Regions from separate parts of the Homo sapiens genome. Here all the other regions are linked to region 2. Evidence: promoter capture Hi-C in human tissues and cell types (Jung and others, 2019). All regions are on one chromosome and are shown on one strand. The core of a region is centred on a gene start or on the middle of the fragment in contact, and the rest is flanking DNA. Distances in the headings are between cores, read along the strand shown.

Region 1 (6,292 bases), core at 1,996-4,495, 70 kb after region 2:
CAGGAAGAGGAGATTGGGACAACATAGTAAGACAAAATGGAGGGAGAAATAGATAGATCACATGAGTGTCTGATCTGTGCTAGACTGATGCCTGGTTGGACCATTCAATATCATTCTACCTCTCTCACTTTAGAGATGGGAAAACTGAGACACAGAGAAGAAAAGTACTTGCCAGAGGTCTCATACAGAGTCTAAGGCGGAAAGAAGGCTAAGCTGGAACTGTCGGGGTCCCTGCATAGAGCTGTTTTAATGACACCCAACCTCTGTCTAAAATATTTATGGCCAATGATTTCCCAAATGTGTTTTCCAAGTACTTAAGGTTTTAAAGATAGCCTTGAAAGCTAAAAGAAAAGGAAGAGGAAGTAGAAGAAGGCACAGGGTATGTAGGGAGTGTTTGGGATCTGTAACCCTGTCACCATGCACACACTTCAACCAAAACAGCTCCTGTTTTGTATAGTGTGCTTTTGCATAAGATTTTGTTTGGTCAGAGTGTTCTGCTCCTCAAATGAAAGCTGAAAAACAATTGTTCCAGAAGAACTCATCGAAAAATCATTCTCCAACTTTGGATATGTTTGACTTTCTCACATAATGTGATGTTTATCTATCTAGTCAATGTGGACATGGATAACAGTTATCCTGACATTCCAAACTGGCCATTGGAAATGTAGGATTTTTCATTTATTCAACCATAATGGCCCTGCCCAGGGCAAAGAGTGTATAGCAGTGGGCAAAACAGGCCAAAAGCCTGGCTACAGAACTGGTGATTGTCTCCCTGATTTTGCCATAGATAACCATCCTTTTCAAAGGAGGAGTGACTTCTGAGCTTAGAAAGAGCTTCTACATCTCTTACCTCTGGAGAGACTCAGCAGAATGCCTGAGGCAGAGGGAGGAGGCGTTACTATGGCCATTTCCAAAGAAGGAGCTTACAGCACAGAACAGAAACAGGCAGAACTGAAGTCCCTATGTCATCTGAGAAATGATATCTGATTCTAGAGTCTAGCACATTTTCTCGAATATATATTTAGCTGACTGGATGCTCTGTGAACAACAGTGATAATAATGATGATGATTAATATATTTTACTAGTCAGGGTTCTTCAGAGAAAAAGAACTGATAGGATCTCTTTACCTCTATCTATCTATGTATCTATCTATCTATCTATCCATCCAACCATGTATCTATCTCATATTTATCTGTATCACCATTATTATGTATATATCTCCTATTGGATAGACATAGATATTTGCCCATGTCTATTCATTTCTCTCTCTCTCTCTCTTTCTGTCTCTCTCTCTCTCTCAATCTTTCTATCTATCTACTTACCTATCTACCTATCTAGAAGAATAGGAGTTAGGCAGAGTTCAAATCATAGACATTGCAAATATGATGGTAAAGGATTTGGACTGTGGGCATCTAGGAAAGGAATGTGTGAAACAGGGCTTATGCGATTTTCCTAGGGTTTTAGACAAGATTTATGAGGTTTAACAAATATCGTGAACATAATACTTTCTCCAAGCTCCCACCCTGCCCTTAGCACACATACTGGATTCTGATGGTCGTATACCTGTAGCGAAGCACTTAGCACCAATTCTTTCAACTGATCATTACCTCCATCCTCAGCACAAACAGGAAAAGACCACAACTGGAGCATGTTCATGGCTCAATCATCCTGGCCAAATAGAATAAGTCCCTTTTTTTTCAAGTGAGAACTCAGGCCCAGAGAAGGCAAGGGAGCTGTAAGGAAATTGAGATAGATGCTGAAAAAGCCAAGACAAAACCCAGGTCACTTCACACCAGAGGGTTTGCCCTCTGCTCTCTAGAAGGCATCTGACAATGTATGGAGATGTTTTTATTTGTCACAACTGGGGAAGAACTACTGGCCTCTCACAGAGGCTGAGGAGGTTGCTAAGCTTTCTGCAATGCACAGATCTCCTTAAAAAGAATTATTTGGCTCAAAACTTCTATCATGCTGAGCTTGAGAAACCTGGCTTTACATCATGCTTGGATCAAGCAATTGTTGAATGGGGTTCTTGCAAATGATCTGATTTCCTTACAGCTGAGTGAATCAAGGTTCAGCAAAAATGAGTGACTTCTCCAAAGTCACATGGTGAAATCAGGACACATGTCATGGCTTCACTAACTTCCATTTCAGTTCCAACATTAATGCTTCTCACTAGCCTGTGCATAAGTCAGGTACATAGTGTCTGATGGGGAAAGAAAACAGATGTTATCCCAAACTGGCCACAGGAAGTTGTCCTCTGGCAGAGTTGACCAAGGTCGTATAGTAGTCACTAACATCCTAATTAGAAGTGGGCGGGGGGGTGGGGCAACACCCAGATTCTAATGGAGCCAAAAATTATGGTTATAACACATAGACTTAATCCTCATGGGGTGCCTGTTCCTGTTTAGGAATTTTGTTAAGAATTGAGGATTTAGGCTGGGCATGGTGGCTCATGCCTATAACCCCAGCACTTTGGGAGGCTGAAGTGGGCAGATCATCTGAGGTCAGGAGTTCCAGACCAGCCTGGCCAACATGGTGAAACCCTGTTTCTACTAAAAATACAAAATATTAGCTGGGCATGGTGGTACAAGCCTATAATCCCAGCTACTTGAGAGGCCGAGGCAGGAAAATCGCTTGAATCCAGGAGGTGGAGGTTGTAGTGAGTGGAGATTGTGTCACTGAACTCGAGTGTGGGCGACAGAGAGAGACCCTGTCTCAGAAAAAAAAAAAAATTGGGGATTTAATAATGAATAGGACACTGTTGCTGCTCTCTTAGCACATACACATGCTAATAAATACACTCCCCACTCCCTAAACTTTGAGGATTCAATGATTGAAAACCTAGGCACTGGACCTAAATGAACTTATTTTATCACTTCTTTACCATGTACTAGTCAGTGGAACTTAGGCAAGTCACTTTACCTTGTTAAACTTCAGTTTTCTTATCTGTAAAATGAGGAAAATAATACCTACCTCATAGAATTGTGTTAATCATGGAATGAGGCAAACAACATAAAACATTTAACATACTGCTGGGAAAAGCAAGTAGAAATAAGAGCAATAGTCATTGTAATTGTTATAGACAGAAGCCTTGAATCCATGGCTTCCTTCTCCAACTCTCAGCTTAAGTGACCTTAGATAAGTAACGCTCCATTTCTGGGTCTCAGTAAAATGAAGGGATTGGGCTACCCTCTTGTGGGCTATGAATCTTACCTTCTCTCCTCTAAGTGACTCTTGGGTTCATCACTGTTCCCCTCTTCTGAAGGCTGACCATCTATTCCATCCACCCCATGCTAATGTAGCCCAGCCAAGGTAGAGATGGCTGAATCCCCGTGTTTCAGCAAAGTAAAGGAGATGACAAAACTTTGGTTTTAGGCAATCCAGCTAGGTTCCCAGGCTGCCCACTGGCTATCCCTGGCTGCTTAGAATACATATCAGTGCCAGCCTGCAGTGATCATGAACAAAGCCATTAGAGAAAAGATGGTAGTATTTTTATTTTTAACCAAATGACTCACTCCCCCTCCGGCTGTGAGCTGTCAAAGGCACAGGAAGGGAACAGAAGATGTTAGAAATGCAAGTTCATGATACTTTCACCCCCATTGGGAGCCAACCACAGGGGATGCCACACAATCTTGCTCAGCTTAATCAGGCCTAGAAAAAGGTGTTTAAACCAAAGAGACTGTCTCAGGGCTGTAACTTTAAGAAAAAGGAAAAGAAGAGCAATCACATGACCAGTAGGGGACAGTGGCAGAATTAGAACAATTACAACGACTAGAGATGAAGGAATGTGTTAATTAACATTAAGGGCTGAGAACTTCCTGGACTCTGATTTCCAGATGTTGGCTTAGATCAGGAGCTTTTAAGTTGTGCTTTGCAGAGTCCTAGAAGTTCCCTGGGAGCCTTTCATGGGGTCCATGTCTTCTCCTCTGCTTCAGCTGGATTGGCTCTCCTGTATCTATTTCACTTATTAAAGTCATAAGAATTTAATGTAATTATTGGGTCTTTATTATGTGCCAGGCATTGCACTAAACACTCAATAAGTGTGAAGTCATTTAACTTTATAACAATCTTATGAAATATTTACAATTACGATTGCTATTTTACACTTTATGAAATGAAGGCTTAATGCCAAGGTAAATCACTTGCCCTGAGTTAGAAGGCTAATAAGCAGCTTTGAACTAGAAATCAGACCTGTCTATCTGCAAAGCCCATTTTCTTAACTGCAACGCTACTATGGTTCCCCATGCTGGGTTTCCGTGTAAGCTTTTATTTTCAAAAAGTGCTCCATAGTTATTTTAAAAGGAATAAAATAAAAGTCTAAAAGTGACTGATTAGATGTTCTGAGATCCCTCCCAGCTCTAAATTTCTAAATTTTATGATTTATAGAAGAAAAAGCAGAGGCTGCGTTACAAAAACTGATGGTGAGGGACAATGGATGGGGTGTGAGTTAATAATAGCAGCTAATATCACAGCACTTAATAGGTCAAGTGATGCTCTAAACCCTTCATACACATTAACTTATTTAACCCTTGCACCAACCTTCTGTGGTCAGTGCTATCATTATTCCCATTTCTAGATAAGGAAATACAACACAAGAGGTTATAACTTTCAAGGTCACACAAATAGAGGGTAGCAGGCCAGGTTCCAGAGCCTGTATTCCTTGCTACTGTGCTCTGCTGAGATGACTTAGTCTGGGAGAAAACGATTTTCCTTAATATTGGCATTTAGTTTTCAACATCACACCAATGCAAATTTATGTAAATAGACACGCAGATCAGCTGCTATCCTGGCATTGGTGCCAGCTTCCCCTCAGGGACATTGATGCAACAAAATTTGGCCATTGTCACTGATTTGAGCTATCACAGTGGTAGACATTTCAATAATTCCCCACATTTCTTAGGCTTGGAAGACATAAATGAATGTATATTATATAGCTATGGGGCTATACATGCTGAACTTCTGCATCTTTTTCAGAGAAGTATCTCTAGAAAATATCCAATTGTGGATAGTTGGTATGCATCAAAAATGAGATAATGATACCTTGCTTCTGCCTATGACTGCATTTTCATACCCATTGCTGCATTTGGGCCTTGCCGCAGTCCTACAAAAAAGGAAAAGCAAAGGTGATCACTCCTCATACGTGGGAGACAGCAGGACAGAGGACGAAGGGGCTTGCTTAGGATTCTGCTGAAATTTGTTGGCTTGGTTTATCTTCCTATGACTCCTACCCTCTTCACTATTGATTTTTCCATACACTGCCATACTGCTTTCTTTGCTGGATGCAGAAAAGCTAGTGTACAGTTTACCCCATAGAAGTAAAGGGAAAGGAAACTGCCTCACCTGTCCCTTTATCTGCATTCACAGAAGATCAGCATTCAAGTACAATAGAGAGAAACTAGGTTTTGCTGAGTAACTACTATGTCTGGCAGAGTGTCTTGCGTTTTGGATAGGCTAACCATATAATTTATTGCCTTTTGAGAATGAAAGGGGTGCCGTTCACAATTACATCAGGACCACAAGCAAAAACTGAGACCATCCTGGGGAAATCAGGACGTGTGGTCACCCTTGCTGAAAAGCTAATATTCATTTCATATTCACCATAGTCCTCTAATGTAGGTGACTTTTCTCTTTGTTCTGAGTCTCTGAAAGGTAAATCATGCCCAGGGTCACATAGCAGATCTGTCTGTTCGATTCTAAAACCCTGGGTTAAGGCACACATCAGAGACGGGGACTCTTGACACTCCAGCCACACAAGAGCTGACCCTAGCGGTTGCTTGGCTGTCAAGCCTTTTCCTCCCCATCACATTCCCAGCCATCGTCCTTGGCCCGGGGAGCTTGGGTGGGGTGTGATGACTGTGCTGCCCCAGCAGAGGGCAGTGTTGCCATGCCTGCCAAGGCGGAGGGCTACAGGAAACGGGAGGGAGCCTGGGCTACGCAGGCCTGGTGGCCGGTGCCGCGTCCCTAAAACAGCCAGCCTTATAGGGCTGCCTCCAAACCAGCTGCTTTTCTGGCTCCCATCCCCTCAAGCCTCACCGTGGATAAACGTACTGTCCCCCTCACCTGTCTATTGGCTCCCATGATACAACACCTGAACAAATTGAAGAGCTCTGTGACACCTGGGGTGGAAAAAGACCCGGGGAGGGTTTCCAGATTGGAAACAGGAACTGTTGCCATTTTCTTGTTTGCTCAGAATTACTCCAGAGCTGGGAGTGCTGTTGACATATGTGTTACCACTTAATCTTTCATAAGAAATCCTTTTCATGGGGGAGCTGAGCTCTGGATCCGCGCCAG
Region 2 (6,711 bases), core at 2,651-5,150:
AAATGGGAGTAACAGTAGAGCCCACTCCATATATGTTATGTAAATTAATAATACAAGGCAGGAAGAAAGCTCTTAGCATCACATTAAGGATTCAATAACTATTTGCTATTCTTTGATCACTTTCAGGGAGATTCACTTTGTCAATGTCATTGACTTATAATCAGATTCTAAAGAAGAATCCCAGGCAAACAAACTTTGGAGATAGTTCACAACTGAAGGAAACTTCCATTTACTTAAGGCAGGCTGAAATTTGATAGGGAGACTAGAAATACAAAAAGGAAAGGATCTGCAAAAAAAAAAAAAAAAAAAAAAAAGACTTGCTTCCAGTCTGGGCATTACCAATAACAGAAACAAAAGAGGCAGAATGGAGGGAGCCAGGGTTAAATATGAAGGTGACCTTGGTGCACGCAGATGGGAGATAGTGCATGCAAAATTACCTTGAGGTCCCCCACTGGAGTTTGAATAAACTAAGAATTCTTCTTTTTGTTTGTCCCCCTTTAATACCAGGGATGGTTTACCACCACTAATTCTGGTCCCAGGACCCAAAGTGACCAGAGGGCTTTGGTGGACACCATCACCCCCTAGTGGTAGCTCCACACTCCCCACTATTGGCAGAGTTTGGCATTTACCAACTTTGCATGCTCAGCTGTGGCACTGGCCATGTCCGTATCCCCTGAACTGATAAGCTGATAGTGAAAGCTGCCCAACTCGCCAGAGACAAACGTTAGGCAGGATGTTTAAAAGTCTGGGGATGGGATGGGGCTGCCTTGGGACACTAGAAAGAGATGGCCATAAATGTCTCATAGTATCAGCCCCAACCCCACCCCTACCACCACCCCCACCTCACCCCTCCCCCCCCCAACCCCCAGCGGGCACCAACTCTCATTTCCGGCCAGCTAGGTCCTCCCAGAACTCATTGTGCACTCTGTGTTTACACACAAACAGTGGAAGACCAACACAAATAAAAATCCCACGTCTCCCTACACAGCTCCTGCTATACCCAGCCATCTGGTGACTACCTCGCTAGCCAAATCCCCGTTGAGAGCGCCTAAAGCTGCCAGCCCAGGGCGCTAGGGGGAAAAGGAGGAGGCAAGAACCCAATCCCCCGCATGCATCCAAAAGGCTCAGCGCTGCCAAGGAGGCCAGCCCCGTGCTCTCCAAGGGGCAGAGGGTCCCAAGCTGCCAGGCTCAGGGACCGTGCATCAGAGGAGGGGGAAGTCTCCATGTGCAGGTTGTTGCCAGGAGACTCTCAAGCAACACATGGGTCCTGGGGGAATCAAGACTTCTAATTCCTCGCTCAGGTCCTCACTCAGCTTGTCCCAGGCTCACAGGCACCCATCCTGTTTGAAAGCCAAAGTTAAAAATGGCAAAGATTGTCAGTTCCAGGAATCCCGGGGCACCTATACAGATGGTTGGAGCAGGTCCTCCATATCCTCGAAGACTTGAAATGCTCTGTGGTCCTCACTGCCAAGTCAGGCCATACCCAAGGACCGTCTCATCCCTTCACTTGAATGGCCGTTTGGGGGGCGGGAGGATTTCCACCCCTCATCTCTCAGAGTACCCCGGAGTAGAGAGATCTAAAGGATGAAGGGAGAAGGTCAGGAATGGAAGTGGTAGTGAAGGGATACCTTCTGTGTCTCTAGAAAGACCCTTCCCCACGGGGAGGTGGCAAGAGCCAGCTGTGAGCCTGAGGTTAGTCCGGCGGCGCTCTAAGGAACACCACCTCCACCCTCCTTCCCTTTCTCGGACATGGGCAGCCCCACAGGTGCACGTGGGAAGAGCTACTGGTTTGTGTGTGTCTGTGTGTGTGTGCTTGGTGCGTCGCACCCCAGAAGCGCCGCCGCGGGGAGTCCCCGAGGAACCTGCAGGACGCTCCGCTGCCTCTCCTCCCGGAACGCTCGGCACGCTCAGGTTACAGCCTGCGAGGGTGGGTACAGGGGCTCGACCCCCGAGGTTCAAGCTCAGAGCGGGAGAACCACTGGCACTCGCTCAAATCCCCAGAGGTGGTAGCATGAAAGGATGGGGAGTGGGTCACAAAAATACTTTTAACAATATCAGGGCTACCAGGAGAGTGGAGCGTAGTCCGCTGATTATTCTGTGGGTCTTTTCAGGCGAGCAAGGAGTTAACCTCGGAAGTTCAGGGATCGTAAAGGTTCTCACCTGGAAGGCCCCTCACCTGCGGTGCCCGAGGCGGATCCCGCCGAGGAAAAGACCCGGGGAAGAAGAGCTCCGGGTCTGGGCGAGCCCCTGGCGCCTCACGGGCGCTGTTGTTGGCCAGACTCCGACAACCAATAAGGCCCCGCGCCCCCAAGAGGGGAGGGGAGAGCGAGCAAGCAGCGAGCGCGGGAGAGCTAAGGGGAACAACATTTTTGTAAACGCTCTCCGAGATAATTAAGCTATCAATTACCCGGGTGGGAAATCAGCTGCGCTTCCCACAGCTCCACTGAAGGGCCGACTCCTCCGGGATTCGCGCAGGGAACCAGCAGGCAGCAAGCTGCTGGCGAACTTTTCTGATTAACTTTTCCGTTGGAGCCCCCCACCCACACCCATCTCCTCTCCTCTCCTTTTTCTTGCCTTTAAGTAATTATTATTAGCCCAGGGAGTGAGCTGCAAGGACAAACCGGCTCTCTGCCTGGAGGTGGGTAGAAAGGGAAGGCGGTAACGGGGGTAGAGGGAGGCTCTAAACGTGGAGACCTCGGAGTCGGAATCCCAGTTCTCAGCAACCACTCAAGTCTCTCCAGCCCTATTTCACAGATGGCCAGAACTGAGGCTCAGAGAAGGGAAGCGACTTGGCCAAGGTCACTCAGCCCATGCGGAAGCCACGCTTTTGCGGGTTGAGCGATTCCACACGGAACTACTCCATTCCTACTCTCATGAAAATCCATCTGGAAGGGCAGAACCCGCAACTCCGAGGCGAGAGCGAGGGGGCGGTGACGGCGGGTGGCCAGTGACGGTACCCGGAGAAGTGGGAGGCTCGACCTGAAACTGGCTTAGGATCTGGGATGCTCCGGCCCCTAGCCAGAGCACCTTCAGTGAATGGGGTCTCCGGCTTCCGGGATGGATCAAGCAGAGCTCCAGGTCGGGACTGAGAGGCAGAGGGGCAGGTTCCCACTGCGGGAGGGTTGGCACGCCCCCAGGCTCCCGCCGCGCGCTCTCCAGGACCTCCTCCCACATGCTCGTTTCCAACCACCTGTGCGACCTCTGGGCCCCTCCTCTACCCTCTGCCAACCCCACTCGGGGCAGCCCCGGGCAGGGATCCCCAGGGCGCCCCCACCCGTCCGGCATGACGCAGGGGCTCGGGGTTCCTTGGGATCTAGCGCGTGCCGGCGCCCAGCCTTACCCAGGGTGAAGAAGGGCAGCTCGGTGTTGTCCAGGTCGTCCTGCACCGCGATGCGCCCCGGCAGCTCGTTACGCACAAAGAGCAGGAGGCGCGACTCGGCGGCGGTGCCGGCAGAGCCAGGAGAGCCCGGGGACGCGGCGGCGGCGGCGGCTCCGGCCCCGGTCCCAGCCCCGGCCCCGGCGCGGGCGCCGCTCCAGCCGATGTCGCTCTCCCGCAGGGCGGGCAGTGTGGACACCGTGACGGTCTTCAGCCGGCACGGGCTGTCGGGCTCCCGCGAGGCAGCGGCGGTGGCGCCGGCCAGCAGCGGCGGCGGCGGCAGCAGGAGCAGGAACAGCAGCAGCAGCGGCAGCAGTGGCGGCGGCCCCGGGTGGAAGCAGAGCCTCGGCCGCCCCCGGAGCCCCGAGCCGGGGCCGGGGCTGAGCCGGGCGCCGGCGGCGGCCATGGCGGGAGGGGCTGCGGTGCTGCGGGCGGCGGCGGCGGTGGCGGCGGTGGCGAAGGAGGAAGAGGAGGCAGCTGCGGAGACGGCGGACGCCGAAGCGAACCAGGACGCCCGAGCTAAGGAGCGGAGAGAGCCGCTCGCCAGCAGCCCCCAGCTCCGGGCTCCGCCTCCCGATCGGCCCTGGACCGCCCCCCCGCGCCGCCTCCCGGGGCCCAGCCGCCCGTCCCCGATCTCCGGCTCCCCCCGCAGACCCCGAGCGTTTCGGAGGCTCCGCCCGGCCTCGTGCAAGTCCCAGTGGCTCCCTCCCCTTTCCCAAGATCCCCCAATTCCGCCCTCACAGCATTCTTTAGCCACAACACCCCTCCCTAAACTCCCCAAATTCCTAATACTTAGGGCCCCCTCGGGCCCCCCCAAGCCCCCCTGACTCAACCCAGTTCTCCTGGCTTCACCCCACCTTCGGCTCAACCCAGAGGCTGCACCTGGGGGCGCGCCTTGGCCCAGCCTTGCTCAAGGCCCCGCCTTCTTGGGGATAGGGAGCCCCCTGGATAGCCAAGACTTAACTTTGTCTCCCCTCAGGCCCAAGAACAAGTCCTTTCTCCAATCTCCTACCCTTTTCTAGTCTCTGAAATAACTTCCTGTAGCCTCAGAGCCCCCTTCCCACCCACTTGGCCACAACTCCTGCATTCATTCTCCCACTGCCCGCAAACCTTCCTCTCCCCTCCATCCAGGCCTTGTGCTAGCACTAATTGCTAATGGACAGAGGGGCGTCGAACTCCACCGTCTAACGCCGACCCCACAACTGACTGAAGCCGGGCTGTTCTGGCCCCCTAGCTGCCGCCCTGCAAGCCAGCCCACTCACGCTTTTTTATTTTGGATCCCTGCTCCCAGCTTGGAGCAGCTCTACTTGGCTGCTTCTGCTCTCTGTGTGAAATTCCTGAAAAGGGTGTGAGGTAGAGACCTACTATTCTGTCTGTCCTTGGCTCCCGGGTCTTTTAGATCCTCTGCCCAAGTCCCAGAGAACGGGAGTGCTCACCAATTCTTCACCTGCAGTCTTTCTAGACTCAAGTTGAGCTAGGTCCTCAGATTCAGCACCCTTTGGTCTTGGGCTGACTCTGTCTCTGACCCACATACCTGAGACCCTCCAGGGAGCGGACACCTCTGCATGGGTCAAGTGCCGTGCAGCCCCTTCCCCACTCCCCTACTTTTCTTCATCTTCCCTGTCTCTGTTTTCTGTTTCATCTCTCCATTCATTTCCTTCCTTCTCATCTTGACTTTAATCTTACAAATGCTTCTTTCCTATAATTTGTGAGCAACTTCTCATCTCTGTCTAGCTTACCCATCTGCACCTTTTGTGCTGTCTCTATGCATTCACTTTTCTCTTAGCTCTTCCCTCTTCTGTCTCATTCCCCTTTTCTATCTTTAACCCTTCATATAAATTGCTTTTCTCCTCTCTCATCATATATTTTTTAATAACGTTGGATAAAGGCAGAGCACTGAAAATAAGGAAAAAAGCAAAAGCTGTTTTGCGACCTTGGACTTAATGTGTTTAAAGCATTCTCCAAATGCTAGACATGTACGTATGTTAGCTTTTTTACATGACCATAATCCAAAAAGATGGATATTATGATTCCCATTTTCCATGTGAGGAAACTGAGATCAGGTGGTCAGGGAGGTGAAGGGATTTTCCAAGGTCGTATAGCAAATGAGCTGAAGAGCTGAGGTTTGAACAGTAGGCTTCAAGCCTTGACTGTTTCCCTTAAATTACACTGTCCTCAGTGACCTTGGAAAACCCCACCCATCAAAGATGCTGTAAAAGGTAAATCTGCATAAGCACAGTTGGATCTACTTCCCTGTGAGGTTTGTAAGGTATACTTCTCCTGTCTCAGTTTACTAATCTGTGAACCCAAAGGATGTGTGGAGGTTGGGGTGGAATCTGGCCTTTCAAGTCCTCTAATTCTAAATGGTCTCCTGCCTCTCTGATGCCTGCTCTAGTTCATTTACTCCTCCAAAATATGTCACCCTGCCTCCCTCAGTCTCTCCTTTGTGTCCTTACAATCCGCCACTATCCACCGCAATGGGGCTTTCTGATTCTCTATGCCCCTTTCTTCAAATATGCTGACATAGTCCATTTACAGAAGAGCACACCAGGAAAAAAGGGCTCCCTTATGTAAGGCAGAGTCTGTGCAAGTCCTTCATGGACCTCTAGTACAAAGGCCTGTCAAATGAGACCAACACTTTCATTCATTCATTCATTCATCACCAAATATTCAGGGTGCCTACCAGGTGCTATATGGAGATGCAGGGATGGATAAACACAACTCCTGCCTTTGGAAAGCTTATAATGATTGGGGTGAGGGGGTGGGATGCCGGAAAGAGACAGGCACATAAATATCTCAGGTAATGGGCAGGCAGGCAGACATGTGTTTCCTAAGATGAGGTACTTGGAGAAATCAAAGAAAGCTTCCCAGAGGCGGTGGCTTTGGAATTGAACCATAAAGATTAGTAACAAGGGAGTGGGCATTCTAGGTTAAAGTTGGCATTTGGCATTCTTTGCAACTGCTTAGTAAATGAATAAATCCCTTTCCTACATCAGAGAATGTTTTATCTTTTAAGGCACAGCCCACCTCCCATGAAGAAGCTAACATTTCTGGATACTTTCTCAGCCTCCACTGCAGCTAGAGCTTGGGCACATGACCCAGGCTTCACCAGTTAGATTCACCCACCCCAGATGCTGAAAAATAAGCCGGAATCAGGCAGAATCCAGTGGCGGCTAAAAGGGCAATAGTTGGGGCAGTTACATCCAGGTGTCTCTGCTAGTCGAAAAGGTTCTAATAGCACTGTTTGGAGCCCAGTGATATCAATGTCAACAGTGTGAAGTGCCTTTTATTTATGCTTGGCTGCAGCTGAAACATATCTTCACCCATACAGTTCT
Region 3 (6,299 bases), core at 1,547-4,046, 110 kb before region 2:
AAATACTCATGCCCTTTTTCATCTCTAAAATGCTTAATTAATGCAAAGCTTTATCATCTCTCTCATGGGCTATTGCAAATGGTTCTGTGCCAGTCAGGGTCTCATCAGAGAAGAGGAGACATACTCAGGAAGGTCAATGAGAAGTGTTTAATGAAGGGAGCATTTACAAAGGCTTGGGCTAGGTTAAGGCAAACTAATGATGAGCAACGAAGTACTCCCACATTGATAACAGCAAGGAATTGTTACCACCCTAGGCCTGAAGGGGCAAGGGATGGTGGGGATGGGGGATTATCAAACCCTAAAAATGCCATAGCTGTAGGAAAGGGCTACCATATAGCTACCAGATAAGAACTATAGCTTTTTCTAAAATAATCCAGCCACTGCCAATGCACAACCTAGGATGGAAGCTTTCAAGAGGGTAATTTCCCAACCTCATCCTCCTTCTACCCACCAATTTTTTGCAGGTGTCTCACACAAGTTGACCTTGACTAAACGCCCAAGAATGCTTAAATGAAACAAATCATATAAGTCAGCCTTCCTGGGTGCACAGCAGGTGGGAAAGGGGATCTCAAGAAGTAAATGAATAGGCTCCTTAACAGGTATCCCTACCTTCGGGCTTCCTTCCTTCCAGCCAACCATTAAATGGCTACCAGGATGAAATTTCTAACTTGTCAAACTGACCATATAATTCCATTGCTCAAAACCCTCCAATGTTTTCTACTATCCCTCATAATAAAACCTAATTTATTGAACCAGACACACAAGGCCCTTCCTGGCCTGTTATGTGCATTTCTCCCCAGTCTGATCTCTTCCTATGCCTTTCCTTGCACTTAAATATTAATTCTCACCAGATATTTATATAACGTACCACATATACTATGTGTTTTTCCTAATTTAATATGTTGTGCTCCTCCATGCTTTCATAAGGAGGAATATTGCATGCTGCATAAGATCACAGGGTCTGGAGACCAACTGCTTGAATTTGCATCCCAGGTCCCATGTGTTCAACCTGTGTGTTTTTGGGCAAGCTCTTCGCTTCTTCATGCCTCAGTTCCCCCATCTACCAAATGAGGATAATAACAGCACCTGCCTCACAGGGTCGTTTTTAGAATCAAATGAGATAATACAAACAAATTAGCTGTTAGGTTGGTCTTGATACTTAGACAGCACTCCACAGTTACATTTGTTATATATTACTTCATATACATAGTTATAGTATCCTCTTTTACTACTGTCTTGGTGTGTGTATATATATATGTGTATATATATATATATATATATGTGCATATGTATGTGTGTGTGTGTGTGTGTGTGTGTGTGTGTATATATATATATCTTAAAATAGTCTATACAGCTGACTTCCCTTATTGGATCCTAGTGCAGGGACATGTCAGAATTATTTGTGTAGCCTGGTGCCTGGTACAGTGGCTGAACTGAATAGGGGCTCCATAAATGTTCTGTATGTTTAATTGAGCCGTCCCATATTTGAAGTCAGATGAGTGTTTCCAGAGGACAGAGAGAAGAGACAGCAACTTGGGGTGTCAATAATGGCTGGATTCCCATACAGCAACTCTACAGAAATTTACCTAACATCCTGGAGCATGCACATGAAAAGAAAGAAATGTTAATTTTCAAGGAGCTTATATTTTCATGAAGTGAGATAGGGGAAGTTCATATAGAAAATGGACTCTGTTATGATTCTGTTTAGACATGAGTATGTGTATAAACAGCTGGAAAAAAAATACACTGGACCACGAAGAATGGCACTCACTAAATAGTGGGATCAGAGGTGATTTTAATCATATTCTCATTCACTTTTCTCTACGTTTTTTATACTGACTATATTTTACCTCTGTAGCAGATGCAAATACTCACTTTAAAGATTCATTTAGTCAACCAACCTCTTCTGAGAGCTGGCATTGTGGGACTCTGTCCTCAGGAGCTTAGTCCAAGGGGCTGAGAAAAGACATGCTATAAATAGCTATAAAGCAAAGTAGAAAGCTTAGAGGAAAGGAGATTACTTCTGGCTGGATCTAAAAACTCTTCATGGAGGAGTCTCAAAGAATTGGCAAGATTTCAACAAATGGCTGTGTGGCAAGAGGGCACTTCAGATGGAGAATTGGCACAAGGGAAGGAAGGCAAGAAGGTCACAAATGTACAAAGGGATACAGTGGGGGGAACCGGTATAAAACGCAGAAGCCACCATTATAGAGAGAGGCTGGGGGTTACCAACTCTTGCCCATGGAGCATCACCTAGCAGAATAATACAAGTGCCAGGTCCCACTTGGGGCTCCTTTATGCAATCAGACCAAGCCCGAGCTCAGAGGTTAATAAAGCTCTCCATATATCATGAATTAAGATGACAAGGTGGATGGACTGATGGGTGAATGGGTGAATGGATGGACCACAGTCATTCTGACTTAATTAAACAGCCTGGGTTAGTGAAGAGAATACTAAATTTTGAGTCAGAAGCTTATATTTTTGTGATCCCTCTACAGCACCTGACTGGTATCCTGGAGCACAAATTACAGAGCCTCTATGATTTTCTTTACTTGTAAAATGGGGGTCACAGTCTGGCCTACTTACATCACATCTAATGTAGAACTGAGAGAAAATAAGGCCATACATAGCAACATGCTTGGAAATCTGCAAAGTTTTACAGTTAGTACTGAAAGCAAATGCAATCATCCAACGACATACTTCATCCATCAATATACCTTCCAATAATTATCTACTGACTATCTGAAATGTGCCAGGCACAGTGCTAGGTCCTAAGGATAGATTGGAGGAAAAGATCAATTTGACTACTATCCTCACAGACTTTCCAGTTTAGTCTGGATATTCCTTTGTTCCCTCTAAGCAGCAGCAAGCATTTCCCCTTGCTTCAGTTTTTTCAGTCATCCACCCATTTAATCATTAATTCATAGTAGAAGGCGATGCCTGTCTAGGACATTACAGTCTTCATTATTTAGCATGCTGCAGGTGTGCAATAAATATTTGTCAAATCAATGTATCACTAAATGTACATTTTCTGAGTTTCTTGTCTTCAAGAAAGTCACAATCTAGGAGAGCAGAAAAAGGAAAGTCAGCAAAGATGATAAGTGTGTGGTAATGACCACAAGATAGGAGGTACAGCTTGTTACAGGAACACACGTGAGAGGTCAGTTAATGCTCCTCATTTATCAGGAGATTGGACAGGGCAAGCAGGGAGAGTCTATAATCTGGACATTTCATAATTCTAAGAGATCCTGATGTCAGGCCAGGTTAAATGCCCACAGGATAATGCCAATGGTATGCTAGGTTTGGGAGGTCACCCGTGGGGACAGAAGGTGGAGAAGTGGCAGGGGCCACAACATGGCCAAAGCCCTCTGGCAGCAGCTGGAGAACAGACTCAAGCTCTTCTGGAAAGAATGGTACTCTTCAAATAGTGGGATTAGAGTCTCCAGACTCCAGAGGTGCCTTAGACTCCTCCTCCCCAACCCCAGCTGTCAGCGCTCATCTCTGCCTCTGCCTCCAATCTGCCCATTACCACCTCCTTTGGGAACTGCATCTTTTACATGAAACTGTTTTCCCAAGCCACTCAGTGAAGATAAATAATACAGTTATACCCAGTTAAATAAGGGAGGGGAAGAGAAGAATTAAGAGCTATTGGCAAGGGAGAAAAGCATATCGTTTCAGATTAGATTTGGAAATAGATAGAGGGTTGCTGGAATTGATTCTCATTACTCCTAGTTATTCTCTCCCGTACCATTTCCCTCTCTCCTTGCTGTATTTCTTTGCTTGGTCTTTGTCATTTCGCTTCATGATATGCCCTTGGTTTCTATGTTTGCATGCTCTCTCTGTCTCTCTTTTTAAAAACACAGCCCAATGTCAATGAGTTTTTCTACTTCTTCTTCTCCTCTTCCTTGTCCCACAACATTGCAAACTGATGCAGAGAGTGGGTGACTAAAGAATGGAGACAGGAACTAACCTTTGCTAACACCTACTTACGTGCCAGGCTAAGGGCTTTCATTCATTGTCGCATTTAGCCCTCATAGGAAACCCACATAGGTAAAGTAGATAGTAGAACACCGAGTTTTCAGCTGAGATGTCTGAGGCCCTAAAAGGGGACTACACTTTTCCAAACCCTGATTCACAGATTCCAAATTCAGTGTTTTCACCACTGTCCTACATAGGCTGAGAAAGGAGCTTGCATATTTGAGTAAAGAGATCGAGGAATCAAGTGTATGCCAGGAGGTGTGATATGATAAGTACCAGGGCAGTAGGCATCCTTCCAGGTCACTCAGGTGCTCTGCCTATCCATTTCATCATAGTAAAGTCCTTTGTTTCCTCTGTTTTTAAGATGCAAATATCTCCTGGGAAAGAGGTATATGAAGCATTCTGTCTTACGGTGAATGAGTTTTTAAGATCACTTTGCTCCTTCCTATATTTCACTGGGTTGACCTTTAACAAATTAAGTTCACCTCTCTGAGCCTCACTGGCCTCACATGAAAGAATGGGAATCATAAAATCAATCTCTTATGATAGCTGTGAGAATAACAGGAGATAATGCATTGGAAGGAGCCTAGAGCAGCATTTAGCCTATGGAACTCCCTGTCAGTTGTCTGTCTTCTCGTCACTCTTTTCTATCTCACCACTGTCAAGGCAAGAAGCACCTGGTTGTTTTGAGAAAAGTGGTGGGGGTGGGAGGGGGGGTGACAGTACCAAATATAAAGAAAAAGGAGGCAGCAGTCACAGAGATAAAACTTCCTACTTTACTTGTAAACAGTTTCCAAGACCCTTCCACCTTGTCCCCAGTGCCCCGTAAACCTTTTAAAGTTATCCCTACAGCAACGATCTGGAATCATGGAAAATTACAACAGGAAGAGAGTGTAAAGGGATAGAGATCAATGATCTATCCCACCCATTTTACTAATATGTTAAATAAGGACCAGAGAAGAGTAGCAACTTGCCTTAAATCACACAGCATCATGATGCAGTGTTCTTCTGATCTCATTGTTTAGAAGAACAACGAGACAAGGATTCACTGAGAGGAGAGGCAGAACCTCCTTAAATCCCAAAAGTAATTTAGCAGTATGCGGGACAAGGAGTGGTAAAAATCCCTTATAATGCCAGGGCCCCTTCCAACTCTCCTGAAGATGCTGCCAAGAGGGCATCTTAAGTCTCTGTTTCTAAGTCTGACTTGTCAACCCCAACCCCCACACCCCAACCCAGGGGACTCAGCATCTGAATGCCACATGCATGGATTCAGACCTGACATGTAAAATGCAATGAGTCAGGAAAGCATGGCACCATGCAGTGTGATGTGTGAGGAGGAAAAATGAAACCTGTAAAACCCAGTGACCAAACAGAGCCTAGAAGAATAAACATACTTGACATTAAGTCCAACAGCTATTTGCAGAAAGATGGGAGAGGCAAGGCTTAAAGGAATACCTTTATATGATGAATTAATCCCCAGGGTCAGACGCTGGCCTAAATCCATTGCTTATGGGAATCATATCATGGTCCACTAGCCCCAAGCAACATTCTTACCTCTTAGCCTTTGTTCAGACCATGTCACCTGCCTGAAATGCCTTAATCTTTTCTTCTGCATACATGGATGTTACCCATCATTCAAAACCCAGCTGAAGTGACCCTCTAAGAGCCCAGTTCAAAATGCCCTCTCCCTCTCCTGAGCCCTCAACTCCCCTGGCAGGCTTCTACTTCCTTCCCTGACTTCACGAACTTCACCCATCCCTAATTCTCATGACTTTTGCTAGATCATAAGAGTCTTCTGGACCAGGAATTGCTTTTATCTCCTCTGTGTCCTTTTTGGTAGCTCAGCAATTTTTGCAACAGCAGGAGCCTGACAAATATTGACTGATACAAGATTAAAATAGAAACCCAAGTAAAGAGGACAGCATGGTGAAATTCCTGACTCCAATTTCACAGATTGGAATACTGAGGTAGAGTGTGCAGGAAGGGGACTCGGAGAGATTAAGAACGAGAAGTGGGAAGGACCAAGTAAGAGCTCCTCAGACTAAGCACACCTTGTTTTACCTGTCCCCTACCCTCTCCTTCACCCCTGCTTTATAGCCCCCTATGCCATCTATCCAAACGGCACCAACCTGGACCAAATGACATTTGATGCAGCCAAACCAGGACAACTGAGCTCTCCTGTGCCTTGTCTATCTCTGCTCTGTCATTCCTCCATGTGCCCCTGCCTTTATGCTCATAGATCCATATCCTTGTTTTTCACTGTTCTCTGTTTCACTGTTTTTTACCAACCTAACTCTTAATCTTCAGAACTCAGATGTAAG
Region 4 (6,084 bases), core at 1,382-3,881, 90 kb after region 2:
AGTTTCATTTGCTCTGCAGAGCTCTTTAGTTTAATTAGGTTCCATTTGTCAATTTGATGTTTTTGTTTTTGTTTTTTGCAATTGCTTTTGGCATCTTCATCAACAAATTTTCACCAGGGCTTATGTCTAGAATGGTATGAATGGTATTTCCCAGTTTTTGTAGTTTTAGGTTCTACATTTAAGTCTTTAATCCATTTTGGGTTGATTTTTCTACATGATGTAAGGAAGGGGTCCAGTTTAAATCTTCTGCAGATGGCTAGCCTGTCATTTATTGTTTCAGGGCACTATTTATTGAACAGGGAGTTTTTTTTACTATGGCTTGTTTTTTGTTGACTTTGTTGAAGATCAAATAGTTGTAGGTGTGTGGCTTTATTTCTGGGCTCTGTATTCTGTTCCACTGATCTATGTGTCTGTTTTTGTACCAGTACCATACTGTTTTGGTTACTATAGCCTGGAAGTATAGTTTGAAGTCAGGTAATGTGATGCCTACAGATTTGTTCTTCTGGCTTAGGATTGGGTTGGCTATTCAAGCTCTTCTTTTCGTTCAATATAAATATTAGAATTTTTTTTAATTCTGTGAAGAATGTCATTGATAGTTTGATAGGAATAACATTGAATTTGTAAATTGCTTTGGGCAGTATGGCCATTTCAATAATATTGATGCTTCCTATTTATGAGCATGAGATGATTTTCCATTTGTTTGGCCCATCTCTGATTTCTTTCAGCAATGTTTTGTAATTCTTGTTATAGAGATCTTTAACCTCACTGGTTAGCTGAATTCCTAGGTATTTTAGCTTGTTTGTGGCTATTGTGAATGGAATTGCGTACTCGATTTGGAAATAAGCTTGGACGTTTTTGGTATATAGACATGCTACTGATTTTTGTACATTGATTTTGTAACCAGAAACTTTGCTAGCATTTCTTAACAGATCTAGGAGCTTTTGGACAGAGACTATGGGGTTTTCTAGGTATAACATCATATCATCTGCAAACAGAGATAGCTTGACTTCCTCTCTTCCTATTTTGATGCCTTTTATTTCTTTCTCTTGCCTGATTGCCCTGGCTAAGACTTCCAGTACTATGTTGAATAGCAGGGGTGAGAATGGGCATCCTTGTCTTGTTCCAGTTCTCAAGGGGAATGCTTTCAGCTTTTGACCATTTGGTATGATACTGGCTGTGGGTTTGTCATAGATGGCTCCTATTATTCTAAGGTGTGTTCCTCAGTTAGTTGAAGGTTTTTAACATGAAGGGATGCTGAATATTATTGAAAGCCTTTTCTGCATCTATTGAGATTATCATGTGGTTTTTGTTTTTAGTTCTGTTTACGAATGAATCACATTTATTGATTCATATATGTTCAAACAAACTTGCATCCCAGGGATAAAGCCTACTTGATTGTGGTGGGTTAGCTTTTTGATGTGCAGCTGGATTTGGTTTGTTACATTTTGTTGAAGATTTTTGCATATACACTCATCAAGGGATTGGCCTGAAGTTTTCTTTTTTGTGTGTCTTTGCCAGGTTTTGGTATCAGGATAACGATGACCTCAGAGAATGAGTTAGGGAGAAGTCCTTCCTCCTCTGTTTCTTTTAATCGTTTCTGTAGTAATGGTACCAGCTCTTTTTATATGTCTGGTAGAATTCAGCTGTGAATCAATCTGGTCTTGGGCTTTTTCTTGTTGGTAGGCTTTTTATTACTGATTCAATTTCAGAACTCATTATTGGTCCGTTCAGGATTCAATTTCATGCTGGTTCAGTCAAAGGAGGTAGTATATTTCCAGGAATTTATCCATATCTTCTAGGTTTTCTAGTTTGTGTGCAGAGAGATGTTCAAAACAGTCTCTGATGGTATTTTGTATTTCTGTGGGGTTGGTCGTAATGTCCCCTTTGTCACTTCTGATTGTGTTTATTTGGATCATCTTTTTCATTAGTCTAGCTAGCAGTCTTCTATTTATCAAAGAACAAATTTCTAGTTTTGTTGGTTGTGTGTGTGTGTGTATGTGTCTGTGTGTGTGTTTTAATCTCAATTTCATTCAGTTCAGCTCTGATCCTTGGTTATTTCTTGTTTCTGTTAGCTTTGGGGTTGATTTCCTCTTGGTTTTCTAGTTCCTCAAGGTGTAATATTAGGTTGTTAATTTGAGATCTTTCTAACTATTTGATTTGGGCACTTCATGTTATAAACTTTCCTCTGAACATTGCTTAGCTGTGTACCAGAGATTCTGGTATGTTGTATCTTTGTTCTCATTAGTTTCAAAGAATTTCTTGATTTCTGCCTTAATCTCATTGTTTACTCAGAAGTTGTTCAGGAGCAGGTTAATTTCCATGTAATTGTACAGTTTTGAGTGATTTTCTTGGCATTGATTTCTATTTTTATTGCACTGTGGTCCAAGAGTGTTGCTAATATGATTTCAGTTATTTTTTAATTTGCTGAGAATTGTTTTATGGCCGATTCTGTGGTTGATTTTAGAATATGTGCCATATGAAGATGAGAATAATGTATATTCTGTTTTTTGGGGTAGGGAGTTTTGTAGATGTCTGTTAGGTCCACTTGGTCAAGTGCTGAGTTCATGTCCCCAATAGTTTTGTTAGTCTTCTGTCTTGATCATCTATCTATTACTATCAGTAGGGTGTTGGAGACTCCCACTATTATTGTATGATTATCTGTGTCTTTTTGTAGATCTCTAAGAACTTGTTTTACGAATCTTGGTTCTCTTGTGTTGGGTGAATATATATTTAGGATAGTTACAAATTGAACCCTTTAACACTCACATATGTTTCCAAATTGCTTGTTTTACCTCCCTCTCTTTCAGGGATGCCAATGAATCATTGATTTGGTGTCTTTATATGGTCTCATATTTCTTGGAAGGTTTTGTTTGTTTTCAATTTTTTTCTGTATTTTTTTGTCTGACTGAGTTAGTTTTGTAATGCTCTTCTTTGCCTTTTTTGATCATTGTCGGTTTAAAGTCTGTTTTGTCTGGAATTAGAAAAGCAACTGCTGGTTTTATTTTGTTTGCTTGGTAGATTTTTCTTCATCCCTTTACTTTGAGCCTATGGGTGTCATTGCATGAGATATGGGCCTCTTTGAAGACATTATATAGTTGGTTCTTGTGTCTTTATCCAGTTTGCCACTTTGTGACTTTTTTTTTTTTTTTTTTTTTTGAGACAGAGTCTCGCTCTGTCGCCCAGGCTGGAGTGCAGTGGCGCGATTTTGGCTCACTGCAAGCTCCGCCTCCTGGGTTCATGCCATTCTCCTGCCTCAGCCTCCCGAGTAGCTGGGACTACAGGCACCCGCCACCATGCCCGGCTAATTTTTTGTATTTTTAGTAGAGACGGAGTTTCACCGTGTTAGCCAGGATGGTCTAGCTCTCCTGACCTCGTGATCCACCCGCCTCGGCCTCCCAAAGTGCTGGGATTACAGGCGTGAGCCACCATGCCCGGCCACCACTTTGTGACTTTTAATTGAGGCATTTAGCTCATTTACACCCAAGATTAATATTGATATGTGCAGATTTGATCCTGTCATGGTCATGTTAGCTGTTTATCATGAAGACTTGATTGTGTGGTTGCTTGATAGTGTCAATGGTCTATGTAGTTAAGTGCATTTTTGTGGCAGCTGGTAATGGTCTTTCCATATTTAATACTCTCTTTTTTTTAATTATACTTTAAGGTCTAGGGTACATGTGCACAATGTGCAGGTTTGTTACATATGTATACATGTGCCGTGTTGGTGTGCTGGAATACTATGCAGCCATAAAAATTGATGAGTTCATGTCCTTTGTAGGGACATGGATGAAGCTGGGAACCATCATTCTCAGCAAACTATCACAAGGACAAAAAACCAAGCACTCTCTTAAGGACCTCTTGTAAGGCAGGTCTGGTAGTTAGGAATTTTCTTAGCATTTCCTTGTCTGAAAAAGATCTTATTTCTCCTTCACTTACGAAGCTTAGTTTGGCTAGATATAACATTTTTGGTTGAAGTTTATTTTCTCTAAAATGCTAAATATATGCCCCCAATCTCTTCTGGCTGTAGGGTTTCTGCAGAAAGTTCTGCAGCTAGCCTGATGGGCTTCTCTTTGTAGGTGAACTATATCTCCTCTCCAGCTACCTTTACTATTATTTTATTCATGTCGATCTTGAAGGATGTGATGACTATTTGTCTTGGGGATGGTCGTTTTGTATAGTATCTTGCAGTGGCCCTCTGCATTTCCGGAAACAGAATTTCAGCCTATCTAGGAAGGTTGGGGAATTTTTTAATGAATGATATGGTCAAATATGTTTCCAAGTTGCTTGTTTTATATCCCTCCCTTTCAGAGATGCCAATGAGTCATTTCAGGGATGCCAAGTCGTTGATTTGGTCTCTTTATATAATCCCATATTTCGTGGAAGGTTTCTGTTTATTCTTTTTTTATTTTTGTTTTTCTATATTTTTGTCTGACTGAATTAGTTTTGTGAATCAGTCTTTGAGCTCTGAGATTATTTTTTTAGGTTGGTCTATTCTGCTGTTGATACTTGTGATTGTATTATGATATTCTTTTAGTGTGTTTTTCCACTCTATCAGATTAGTTTGGTTCCTTCTTAAAATGGCCATTTTGTCTATCAGCTCCTGCATTATTTTATCATAATCCTTACATTCCTTGGATTGAGTTTCAACTTTCTCCTGAATCTTGATGAACTTCCTTGCCATCCAGATTCTGAATTTTATGTCTGTCATTTCAGCCACTTCATTCTGGTTAAGAACCATTGCTGTGGATCTAATGCAATTGTTTGGAGGTAAGAGGACACACTGGCTTTCATACTTGCTAGAGTTCTTGCACTATTTCTTTTTCATGTGTGTGGGCTGATGTTCCTTTAACTGTGGTGTAGTTTGAGTATAATCAGCTGACTTCATTTCTGGATGTTTTCAGAGGGCTGAGGCTTTGTGCTTGGGAGGTAGGCTCTTGCTTAGCCAAGCTCCTCTCTATCTCCATGCATTTGCAGCTGTGCTCCCTCTCAGTGCTCTGAGGGTGTGAGCTCCTCTCCTGCTTGACTGCTGGCTGCAGATTTTGACTTGGCACTCCCTGGCTGCACACAGCATCCCTGGGGTGAGCTCTGGCTTTATGTTCCCTCCCCAGCTTGGGGGAACCAGGGACAGGGACCTTGGTAGTGGCAATGAAAGAAGGCTTTTCATTTGTCTCTTGGGGCTCCACTTAAGAGAAATACAGCACCACTATCAATCAGAGCGATAGGCCCGAGGTGGGATGGCTGCCTTGTGGTCCCAAGCCAAGAAGCCCTGCTTGGTAATGAGCCTGGGGAGAGGGCGATCATGTGGAAGACAGACTGGCTTCTTCTCCTTATGGTGACTGTGGCATTCTGCTGGTGTGAATAAAGCACTCAGGGTCTTTGTTCCTTCTCCAGTCTCACGGCAGCAAAGGCAGTGGCAGTGGCAGAGGTTACCTCTGGAAGCCTTACCCCAGGGAAATACCAAGCCACTAGCAGTGGGAATGCTCAGTCAGGGAAGGGGCAACTGTTCTGTGGTCCTGAGCCAAGGGCCCTTCCTGGTGAAGAGTAGGTGGTGGGGTCTTACAGGGAAGAGAGACTGGGGTCCTCTCTGTGTGGTGGTTGCAGCATGCTGGAGGTGCCAGTGATGCAACCAGGCCCTTTGTTCCTTCCCTAGCCCAAGGGCTATAAGGGCAGTACCACTGCAGCTGCAATGGGAGAGGGGCTGTGGGTTGTCTCTGGGATTTCCTCCTTAGAGAAATGCAGAGCCACCACCAACTGAAGTGTTCAGGTGGGGGCAGAATGATTAAGATGGGAGCCAAGGTTGAGAGGCCTTGAATGGTGAGGGATAACAGGGGCAGAGACATGCGTGGAAAATTGTGTGGCCACTTTTCCGTAAGGCAGCTGTGCTGTGCTGGGGGCCTATATTAGTCCTTAATCACTTCACTCCCTCCTGAGCCTGAGGGAAGTGGGGACAGGAATTGTAGAGCAGCAAAAATAATGGGCCTACCTGCTATCACTGGGAATGCAGGGCTGCTACTGGCCCAAGAGCTCAGGCAGGGCTGGGGTGGCCATATTGGAGTCCCAGGCCAGTGGGCCTTTTCTGGTGAA

The links. Contacts are between HindIII fragments. The study calls those that stand out against the background at their distance.
Region 1: a contact is called between a fragment that was not itself captured here and the fragment with the promoter of ASTN2 in region 2, in 3 of the 25 tissues and cell types used here (dorsolateral prefrontal cortex, hippocampus and pancreas).
Region 3: a contact is called between a fragment that was not itself captured here and the fragment with the promoter of ASTN2 in region 2, in 5 of the 25 tissues and cell types used here (H1 embryonic stem cells, aorta, dorsolateral prefrontal cortex and 2 more).
Region 4: a fragment that was not itself captured here is called in contact with the fragment with the promoter of ASTN2 in region 2 in 2 of the 25 tissues and cell types used here (IMR-90 fibroblasts and aorta).

What each region holds. Positions count from the first base shown.
Region 1 is chr9:117,481,828-117,488,119 of GRCh38, forward strand. No RefSeq gene overlaps it. Among named protein-coding and RNA genes, the nearest start is that of ASTN2, 70 kb to the left of the region's middle. RefSeq lists an enhancer at 5,956-6,115. The HindIII fragment of the contact is 4,983 bases long and covers 755-5,737 here.
Region 2 is chr9:117,411,157-117,417,867 of GRCh38, forward strand. It overlaps ASTN2 (astrotactin 2), which reads right to left and starts at 3,901. Exons shown (of 23, transcript NM_001365068.1): 1 at 3,341-3,901. The coding sequence starts at 3,782. The HindIII fragment of the contact is 9,596 bases long and covers 1-6,711 here.
Region 3 is chr9:117,297,411-117,303,709 of GRCh38, forward strand. All of the region lies in intron 1 of ASTN2 (astrotactin 2), which reads right to left. Among named protein-coding and RNA genes, the nearest start is that of ASTN2, 110 kb to the right of the region's middle. The HindIII fragment of the contact is 5,743 bases long and covers 1-5,668 here.
Region 4 is chr9:117,502,435-117,508,518 of GRCh38, forward strand. No RefSeq gene overlaps it. Among named protein-coding and RNA genes, the nearest start is that of ASTN2, 90 kb to the left of the region's middle. The HindIII fragment of the contact is 5,434 bases long and covers 1-5,348 here.